2 separate regions of the Homo sapiens genome follow, and region 1 is linked to region 2. Evidence: promoter capture Hi-C in 16 types of primary human blood cells and fetal thymus (Javierre and others, 2016). All regions are on one chromosome and are shown on one strand. Each heading gives the region's core, a stretch centred on a gene start or on the middle of the fragment in contact. The rest is flanking DNA. Distances are from core to core; before and after follow the strand shown.

Evidence for each region. Contacts are between HindIII fragments. The CHiCAGO score rates a contact against its expected background, and 5 or more counts as called.
Region 1: a fragment that was not itself captured here is called in contact with the fragment with the promoter of DENND6A in region 2 in 2 of 17 cell types (naive B cells and erythroblasts); the score reaches 5.8 in naive B cells.

What each region holds. Positions count from the first base shown.
Region 1 is chr3:57,244,686-57,249,638 of GRCh38, reverse strand. It overlaps APPL1 (adaptor protein, phosphotyrosine interacting with PH domain and leucine zipper 1), which reads right to left. Exons shown (of 22, transcript NM_012096.3): 8 at 3,417-3,563; 9 at 2,162-2,244; 10 at 1,288-1,446; 11 at 91-279. Among named protein-coding and RNA genes, the nearest start is that of APPL1, 19 kb to the right of the region's middle. The HindIII fragment of the contact is 1,551 bases long and covers 1,815-3,365 here.
Region 2 is chr3:57,689,751-57,695,088 of GRCh38, reverse strand. It overlaps DENND6A (DENN domain containing 6A), which reads left to right and starts at 2,012. Exons shown (of 20, transcript NM_152678.3): 1 at 2,012-2,307. The coding sequence starts at 2,071. It overlaps DENND6A-DT (DENND6A divergent transcript), which reads right to left and starts at 1,884. Exons shown (of 2, transcript NR_135550.1): 1 at 1,747-1,884; 2 at 1-1,273. RefSeq lists silencers at 2,013-2,112, 2,223-2,462 and an enhancer at 2,184-2,684. The HindIII fragment of the contact is 17,962 bases long and covers 1-5,338 here.

The sequences.
Region 1 (4,953 bases), core at 1,341-3,840, 450 kb after region 2:
TCCATAAAATTTCTAAACAAAAAGGAATTATCTCACATTTCAGAAGTTTAATATACTATAGATTAGTAGTAGTAGAAAAAAAATACTAACTTTTTTCCATCGAAAGAGGTGATCTGAAAACAATATCGTCTGTCTTCACAGTCCACAGCCATCACTGAACAGTTGTCTATGTCCATGGCCAGGCCTCCTGCTACATCCCCACGGGCCTGACTCATTAAATTTCCACCCTGCGTGAAGTAAAACTGTCTGTCCCAGGTAGATGACACCAAGCCTGTTTTACTGAATGAAGAAAGCACATTCACTCTTTAATAACAACATACCTGAAATCTCATCATCAGCTAGACACAAGATAAAGCATGTTACAATGAACTGGCTTGCGAAGAGGCACCAAGATGCCAAGAAAATAAATATAAATATGCTTTCAGTCTCTAAAATAAATTCATGTATGTTGACTCACTTTTGTGAATGTGTATACAGTTTCCAAAACAAGGCTGGAAATTATCAAACTGTGGCTGTTATAATAATGATCCATAAAATATAGGTTATAGTTCAATTTCCAAGGGAGTAAATTCAAAACAACAGAATTTATTTTATTTCTAGGGTTAACCTGCTTCATCCTATCATCAGGTGAAAACTAACATTTGACTTGGTGCTATAATTACAAATATATTAAAGTAGGATAAATGATATTTCATAGCATTCTCATGTTATGATACAATATGTGAATATTTATTTAAACTCAAATTAGTTTCACTTCATTTTTTTTTTTGAGACAGAGTCTCACTCTGTCCCTCAGGCTGGAGTGCAGTGGTGGGATCTCGGCTCACCACAACCTCTGCCTCCCATGTTCAAGTGATTCTCGTGTCTCAGCCTCCTGAGTAGCTGGGATTACAGGTGTAAGCCACCATGCTCAGCTAATTTTTGTATTTTTAGTAGAGGTGGGGTTTCACCATGTTGGCCAGGCTGGTCTCGAACTCCTGACCTCAGGTGATCCGCCCGCCTCAGCCTCCCAAAGTGCTGGGATCACAGGCGTGAGCCACCATGCCCAGCCCTGGTTTCACTTCTTTTATCATTCTACATTATTCAATAAATATCTAGGTAGGATTTTACTTCTGAAAAGTATTCATGTACTTCATCTGTCAAAAAGTTCACATAAATACTAACACCTCTAAAAAGTTTCAACCTTTAATAAAAATCAAAATATGACAGACATCAATTATTTACTATATTCATTTGGTATTGTCTTACATGATACACAATATACAAAAATAACAATAGTTTTCTTACTTCCTAGCATTAAGGTATCCAGCCTTTCGGGTTAAATTTCGATTAACAGGAAATTTGGTGGGGTCTGGGTCAGGCACATATAAGGGATCACTGGCTACTTCCAAATCCTCTATTGTCTGTTGCATGGTCTCTATATCACTGTCCATTTCCCTGCGAACACTGACACAGAACAGATTATTTGCTACAAATCACAACCAATAAAGAACTCCTTACCAATCATGTTTACCTGCATATTTGTTTCGGGTATGTTTTCTTAAAGAGAGGAAGAGCGGCATGGGTGGTTAAAACAACACGAATATATTTTAAAACAGGTTTACAGTTTATTTGAAACTTAGATATTTTGGAAACAATACTAAATTCAAAAAACAAATGAAGCCCCCCGAATGCCTGATTTTGGCGTAATTTTCAAACTGTTCTGCCCTGTGCCTTTAAAACAACAATCACTTTCATCTCTCTCCATACCGTGGACTGACCACATACACTGCTCGGCATTTTGAACCTGATAAGAACTGCTTTCTCTCTAAGCTTTCATGGCTTGGAAACAATATTTAGTAATCTCCCATCAAACTCCCACAATTTCAAGTTTAAAGATAATTTCACTTATGGGGAGTTACTATTATGTGTCTGTTATATTCAGACATAAAACTGAGTGTAGAATCAATAAAATTATCACTATTATGAAATTCAAAGTTCACAATCTGTGGAAAAAAGAGGTTAAAAAAAAACAAGAAGTAACCATGAACCACATAAGAAACTCTCATGGCAGGGAAAATATTCCCTCAGGAAAGTAAATGATAAATATCTTTACATTATGTCATTGAGCTGTTATCATTCACATCATTTCATTTTCAATTTTAAGGAAAAAAATACTTACTTCTGAACGCTTGTTCCAATATTAGCTAAAAATTCTTCCAGTTGTTCATTAAGATTTTCAGAACCCATCTTAAAGAAACTTATCTGGAGAGTGGGGAGTGGGGGGAATTGAACAATACAAAAATAGATTAAGCAATACTTAAAGTAAATCATATAAACAATCTCTAAGACACATGGTTAAGTAAAAAACAAAGGAATATTCCCATTTGTGTAAAAATACATTGTAGTTTGTGACTTCTACTGCACAGGGAGCCATTAAGGAAGTTAGACTTAAATTCCACTGCATATCCTTTTATATTTTTTGAATTGGAACAAGTAATATATACATATGGTTAACAATCTTTTAAAATTGGAAAATAAATTTTAAAGTATTTCCAATAAATTATATAAAGTATTTCATGTTTACTACAAAGATAAGTTTTCTATCTGAGGAATAATCAGTAAAGTACTCTTTTACCTAAATAGATTCAATTTTTTTTTTTTTTTTTGAGACAGGGTCTCGTCTGTCATCCAGACTGCACAATAAAACCTCACTGCAGCCTCAGCCTCCTAGGCTCAAGGGATCCTTCCATTTCAGCCTCCCAAGTTGCTGGGATCACCGAGGCATGCTACCAAGCCCAGCTAATTTTTTCATTTTTTGTAGAGATGGGGTCTCCCTACGTTGCTGAGGCTAGTCTCAAACTCCTGGACTCAAATGATCCTCCTACCTCGGCCTACCAAAGTGCTCGATTATAGGCATAAGGCACCGTGCCTGCCCTCAATTTTCTTTAAACTCTTGATTTTTAGGAGACTGACACTTTGTCTTATACTACCCAAATTTTCTAGCCCCCTTCCTGATGTACTCTTTGGGCACGTTGGAGTTCATCTATTATTTTTAACTCAGGAAGTATGCAAGGAATATGGGATAAACTCAAACTTGTTTATTCTTTTTCAGATCTATTATGAAGCAAGTGTTTAGTTGAAGCTCTAGCAATAGGTGTAACTCTGAAATTCATTTAGTTCTCTCAGTCCCCAGCTATGGTGAACAAGTGGTTTCATTTACCTAAAATATTTGAAATCTTCATTTGCAAGGAAAACCATTCTTCCTAACTTCCTTAAAATAATAGTCTGATGACATTTTAAAAATAACTTCTTAAAACACAGACATAAACAAGGATGTTGAAAATAGTTTATAATACCCTTATACTTAATGTAAATATCAAGCTTAATATAAAACTTTTAGGACAGTTATAATCCAAATACAGTACAGTATTTACCTGAGCTTGCATGTACCCAAGTAGAGGTTCTAACAATGCTATTTTCTTCTTGTACTGAAGAGTATTTAATGCACAAAAATAATGCATCATGGTCTGGTGTTGTTTCTTTCTGGATGTGTACACATCTTCTGTTACTTCATACTTCACCTTTGAATGAAAAGATTTAAATAATTAAGTAAATAATCTGCTATTATTTACTTAATTTTGTATTATCTTCAGTAGGAGCTGTGGAGAAGAGCCTACCCAAGGAATTGAGTATCACAAGCAATTGAGCATTAATGTTCCTGTTTTCTGATCTTTTAGAAATCCTTCAACATACTGGTTAAGCAAATTTTCCTGTTTAACTTCCAACCACATAATTTACAAAATGCACATTGAGCCCAGGCGTGGTGGCTCATGCCTGTAATCCCAGCACTTTGGGAGGCCGAGGCGGGACGATCACTTGAGGTCAGGAGTTTAAGAACAGCCTGGCCAACATGGTGAAACCGACTCTATTAAAAATGGAAAAAAAAATTAGCCAGGTGCAGTGGTACACACCTATAATTCCAGCTACTGGGGAGGCCGAGGCATGAGAATAGCTTCACCCTGGGAGGGGGAGGTTGCAGTGAGCCAAGATCACACCACTGTACTCCAGCCTGGGTGACAGAGAGAGACTGTCTCAAAAAAAAAAAAAACTGCATATTGAAAACAGAATTCTGTACGTAACTAAGAATGGTACAATAACTAAACTAAGCATGGCAGAGAAAGCTTACGACAAGGAGGAATGGCAGACAATTGTTTGTTATTAGCTTAGTCATTAGTCTTTGACTTTGATCAGTTCACAGCATACCATTCTCCCCTCCTGGTTCTCTCCCTATCAGTCTTCCTCTCTTGCACTTGCTTGTCTTCCTTCACCCATACTTGAAATACGTGTGCTCCCTAGAGTTCTTTTATTCAGACAACAAATATTTATTGAATACCTATTATGTAATAGGCATTAGGTTCTTCTGCCTTCCTGCTTTCCTTAGAATCCTCAAGTACGAAGAATATTCTAATATTCCAATACACCAATGACTCAATGACTCACAAATTTTATCTCCTCCCTCTCACCTTCCCAAGTGACAGAGTAAACACATCTCCAGCTGGGTTCTTTATGTGTGTTTATGTGCTAAAAATGTACAAAACTGAAGATAGTTTTGTACACAAAACCTGTTCTTCTGCTTTGTTTCTTACCTTTCTTAATTACTACAGGATCCATCCAGACATCCAAGAAATCTAGGACTCATTTTTTATTCCTCCTATTACCACAAGTCTTGTCAATTCTACTTAAAAAAATATCTCCCAAAAGTACTCCTTCCTCTCCATTTTCAGTAACAACCTTAGCTGAGGCCTTCATTGTATCTCTGCAAACTATTCCAATTCCTTTCACTGGATATCCTCTAGTCTTGTCCTCTTCACATTTTCATTAGTATGTTTGTTCTATAACACAATTGCATGATGTTATTCACCTACTTAGAATCCTTTGGCGGCTGTCCACTCCCTCTAACACAAATTTCAA
Region 2 (5,338 bases), core at 763-3,262:
CTCACGTGATTCTACCGCCTCAGCCTCCCAACGTGCTGGGATTACAGGTGTGACCCACTGTGCTTGGCCACAACTGGTGTTTTGAGATCATTAATAATTAATAATGAAGTAGCATCTGGTAAAATGTGTACATTAGGATAGCTTAGCTTTTCCCAACAGTCAGTGAGGTGAGTTAGTAATCATCACTCTCATTTACCAGAAACTGGGTTTTGGAGCAGCTTGCCTACCACGATCGTGGTAGATTCTAGCTGGCACTAGAATCCAGAACTTTTGACTTCCACGCCAGTGTTCTTTCTAATACAAAAGGCTACTGTTCTTTCCTAATACTGGGTTTAGAGCCTTACTTGATCGCAGAATACAGTTTTTCCTCTTTTAACCACAGCAGTTCTCTGGAGTAGGATGGCAGGCTACTTTGGCCAAAGACTTGGCCTCTAACTTAAGTGCTGTCCCTAAGTTCATTTTTGTCTAAAGGAAGTCTCCAGCAAACGTCACTACTGATGTCTGTGCATACTTGACCACCTCCTTGAAAACAGGGACGCTAACACTTGCTCCAAAAAAAAATTCTAAGAATGTTAAGAGGGCAGTATTTGTCAAATGGAATGGATTTCACTGGGCAGTGCAGCAAAATGCTTAAGTTCTGCCGTGTTTTTTGTTTTGCGTTGTTTTTTAGAGACACAGTCGCGCTCTGTTGCCCAGGCTGGAGTGCAATGGCTGTTCGCAGGCGCGATCATAGCGCGCTGCAGCCTGGAACTCCTGCTCAAGCGATCCTCCTTGAACTTAGCCGGCCTCAGCTTCCCAAGAACCTGGGACTACAGGCGTGACACCTCGCTGGTTTACTCATTTTTCTGTTGAGGTATTATTGTGTGTTTCCTACTTTTACTATGCTATTTATACTCAACATAGTAGGTGCTGAATAAATACTAGTTAGTATCCTGGCTGGTCCAATACTCAGTAAAAACTGATCTCAGAATACGAAGCTGCTTGAGACCAGGCCCTTGCCCCAGTGTTCAGAGATCCACAGGTTGCTGTGGAGGCCAATCTGCCCAACCTGGAGTTCCAGAAAGGTCTGGGGATGTGTGTTGAGTGAGTCACAGACAGCCAAACTAAGAAAGGAGGAGGTGGTAGGGTGGGGAGGCCTTGCTGGAGAAGGAACAGGTGAGTGAATGCACAGATCTCTGAATCAGCAAACTGAATGAGTGAACCGCAAGCCGATATCGGAGTTGTCATACTTGTTGGGCTAGTCATGTAACCTCCAGGACCTCCATTTCCTTATCTGTAAAAAGAAATAAATAGTCTACTTATTTGCGATTATGTGAAGATTCAATAAGGTAATATTTGTAAGTATTCGCACTTGTACTTGGCATATCAACTGGCACAAAGTAAGCGTTCAATGTTAGCCACCGTCACCATTATGCGTTCATATATTTTATTTTTATTTTTTTGAGACGGAATCTCGCTCTGTCGCCCAGGGTAGACAGAATACAGTGGCGCAATCTCAGCTAACTGTAACCTCCTGGGTTCAAGCGATTCTCCTGCCTCAGCCTCCTGAGTAGCTGGGATCACAGGCGCGCTCCACCACGCCTGGCTAATTTTTTCGTATTTTTAGTAGAGACGGGGTTTCACCATGTTGGTCAGGCTGGTCTCGAACTCCTGACCTGATGATCCGCCCGCATCGGCCTCCCAAAATGCTGTGATTACAGGTGTGAACCACCGCGCCCGGCCTACGCTTTCATAATTTAATAATACCTTATAATAATTATGAACTGTGTCATTCCACGAATAATTTATTCCCTGGTCGTTGACTGCGAACGAGGTTGACAAGGATTCATAAACAGCCATTTCAGTCCCAAAGAGCTTTTAGACAAGGAAGCCAGGACCGGCTTCACAATCCGAGACAAGCGGCAGCGTGACGTCCCCACGTCCGCTCCCAGGGTCACGTGACCCGCAGCCCCGCCCGGACTGAGTGGGTCCCCAGCGGCTGCGACAGCAGCGTCTGCGCCTGCGCGGAGGCAAGCGCGCTCTGCGGCGCGGTCCGCTGTGGAGGCGGCGCGAACGGTCAGGGGGCGGCCGATGGCTTTGAGGGGCCCTGCGGGCTTGGGGCCCGGCTCTCGAAGGCCGTTGGACGAAGCGGTGGCAGGGGCCGAGGGCCGCGAGGCGCCGGCCCTTGTGGCGGCGGGAGGCGCGCCAGAGGACGATGAAGAGGACGATGGCCGTGGCCGGGGCCTGCTGCGCTGGGACAGCTTCTCCGCCTGGCTGCACTGCGTGTGTGTGGTGGGCTTCGACCTGGAGCTGGGCCAGGCCGTGGAGGTGAGGCCCGGCCCCGCCCTTTCTCGGCGCTCCTCCCCTGCGCCGGGGCGGCTGCAGCAAAGCCAGCGGCCCGCGGGCTGACCGGCCAGGACCCTGTCCGCGGCGCATCCGGGCGTGGCCAGTCTCCCCTCCCGCGCTCTTTCGGGCTGCGGTCCTACGGCACTTCCCGTGGGAGGATCTTGGGCTGCGGCTAGGGGTGAAAAGTTCTCTCTAGGCCCCTCCTAAATACTTGTTGATGTTCATCCTGTTCTTTCTTTATTTCTTTTAAACGCAGAGTCACAGAATTAACTAAAAGGGTTAGTAGCACCCACCCGGAGAAGCCCGCAGGCAGGATGTTTGTTTGGTACTTTTTCAAGAACAATGCCCATAACAGATGATGAACTCTAGTAGCCGAACTTGCACAACCAAGTTTTAAGGCTCAGATTGTTTTAGTCATTTGCAGTAACTGTTTGAGCGTTTCCCTCAGCCTGAGTCGAAATGCTTATCTCAGCACGCATTTTCTCCCTTTCCTCCTTTTGTGCCTCATTTCTGTTTTTTTTTTTTTTTTTTTTTGAGACGGAGTTTTTGCTCTTGTTGCTCAGGCTGGAGTGCAATGGCGCGATCTTGGCTCACCGCAACCTCTGCCTCCCGGATTCAGGCAATTCTCCTGCCTCAGCCTCCCGAGTAGCTGGGGTTACAGGCATGCGACCATGCCCGGCTAATTTTGTATTTTTAATAGAGACGGGGTTTCTCCATTTTGGTAAGGCTGGTCTCGAACTCCCGACTCAGGTGGTCTGCCCGCCTAGGCCTTCCAAAGTGGTGGGATTACATGCGTGAGCCACCGTGCCCGGCCTCATTTCTGTTATTTTTTTTTATGTTGCCTCTGGAACAGTTGGTGTGAAACTACTGTCAAGATGAATATAGGGAACATCATTTGCTTGTCAATCAGTCAACTTTTCCATTCTTATGTATGGCCCCTTACCGAAAGGCTTTAGAAACATCTATTCTTGACGTTGTTGAAGGTCTTTTTAGCATAAGGAATTGCTTGCTTTCATGTGTCCAAGGAAATTGTTATCAGAAGGGCGTTTGTTTAGACGTTTTGGTTTTGGTTTTTTTTTTTTTTTTTTTTTTTTGGTATTGGTGACAGATTTCGATTTCATTAATACTGTAGTGGCCTGGTTGACTAAGAAAATTGGCTAGGGGTAGTTTTCTTAATGCGAAGCTACTGCTTTCGTATTCGGCCTGCCTTCTGGATGTTTTATTATAACACAGTTCAGCGACATTAAGTTTCCACTAAGAACCAGGCATTATGTTAGTTGTGGAGCATACAAATAGGATGTGCTCTAATCTGTATTTGTAGATTGAGGCAATAATTTAGAGGAGAACCAAGAATTAATCATAGTAGCTGATAAGGCCAAATGCAGTGCCTGGCACCTAGTGGCATTCTATAAATACTTTTGATAGAATAGGTGAATATGTGAGCAATTCTTTATCTTATTAAAGTAAGAAAAACAGTTCCCAAAGATTTTGAGTAAGAGATTTATAAGCCATTTATTATTCACCTTGCCATGTTAACCTGAAGTTATATGTACAGCAAGATACAATTTAACCAGAAAGCATAAGAATGGGTTGTTGTAGTTGATTGTGTTTTTAAATAGCTAAAGGAGATTCTTTTGGATTCTCATTATTTGGGACATTCTTTATAACGTGAATATGTTTTTTGACCAAATAAACAGAAAATATATTTGAGATGCTGCAAAAATGTGAATTATTAAAGGACTTATTTTGAATTTCATTTTCCATAGTGTATGCCACTGTATAGAGTTTTTTCTAGGTCAGGAGTTCTTAACCTTTTGCTTCCTGGATCTTTTAAAAATATGAACATTGTGAATTTTCCACTAGGAAAAGGCTGAGTAAGATGAAATCATGTATGTGGTTCCATATATGTGGTTTCCAGCTATTTAAGACATAAACCTAGTAGGGCTTCAGAAAATGGCTAGAGTTCAGAACCAGGGAAACCTCTTGGTTTTGCTCTTTTTTTGTGTGCAGATCTTGTTTATATTTCATGTTCCCTGCAAACTGCCTTCTTCCCCTTCTCTGATTTTTTTTTTTTTTTTTAAAGACAGAGTCTAACTTTGTCAGCCAGGCTGGAGTGCAGTGGTGTAATTTCGGCTCACTGCAACCTCCACCTCCCAGGTTCAAGTGATTCTCCTGCCTCAGCCTGCCAAGTAGCTGGGACTACAGGTGCATGTCACCATGCCCAGCTAATTTTTGTTTTTTGAGAGAGAGAGTCTTGCTCTGTTGCCCAGGCTGGAGTGCAGTGGGGCAATCTCGTCTCCCTGCAAGCTCCGCCTCCCTGCAAGCTCCGCCTCCCAGGTTCACGCCATTCTCCTGCCTCAGCCTCCCAAGTTGCTGGGACTACAGGCACCCGCACCACGCCCGGCTAATTTTTTGTATTTTTAATAGAGACGGGGTTTCACCGTGTTAGCCAGGATGGTCTCGATCTCCTGACAGTGTGATCTGCCCACCTCAGCCTCCCAAAGTGCTGGGATTACAGGCATGAGCCACCGCGCCTGGCCTGCCCAGCTAATTTTGTTTTTTTTGTTTTTTTGTTTTTTTTAGTAGAGACAGGGTTTCACCATGTTGGCCAGGCTGGTCTTGAACTCCTGACCTCAAGTGATACACCTGCCTCAGCCTCCCAAAGTGCTGGGATTACAGGCGTGAGCCACCGCACCTGACTTTTTTTTTTTTTTTTCCTTAGAGACATGGTCTGCCTCAGATTGGAGTGCAGTGGCATGATCATAACTCACTACAACCTCGAACTCCTAAACTCGAGGGATCCTCCTGAGTATCTATGAATACAGACATGCACCACTACACCCGGCTATTTTTAATTTTTTTTGTGGGGACAGGGTCTTGCTATGTTGCCCAGGCTGGTCTCAAACTTGTAGCCTCAAACTGTCCTGCTGCCTCTGTCTTCCAAAGTGCTGGGATTATAGGTGTTGAGCCACCATGCCCAGCCCTTCTCTGATCTTTAAGGTGAGAAGCTAAC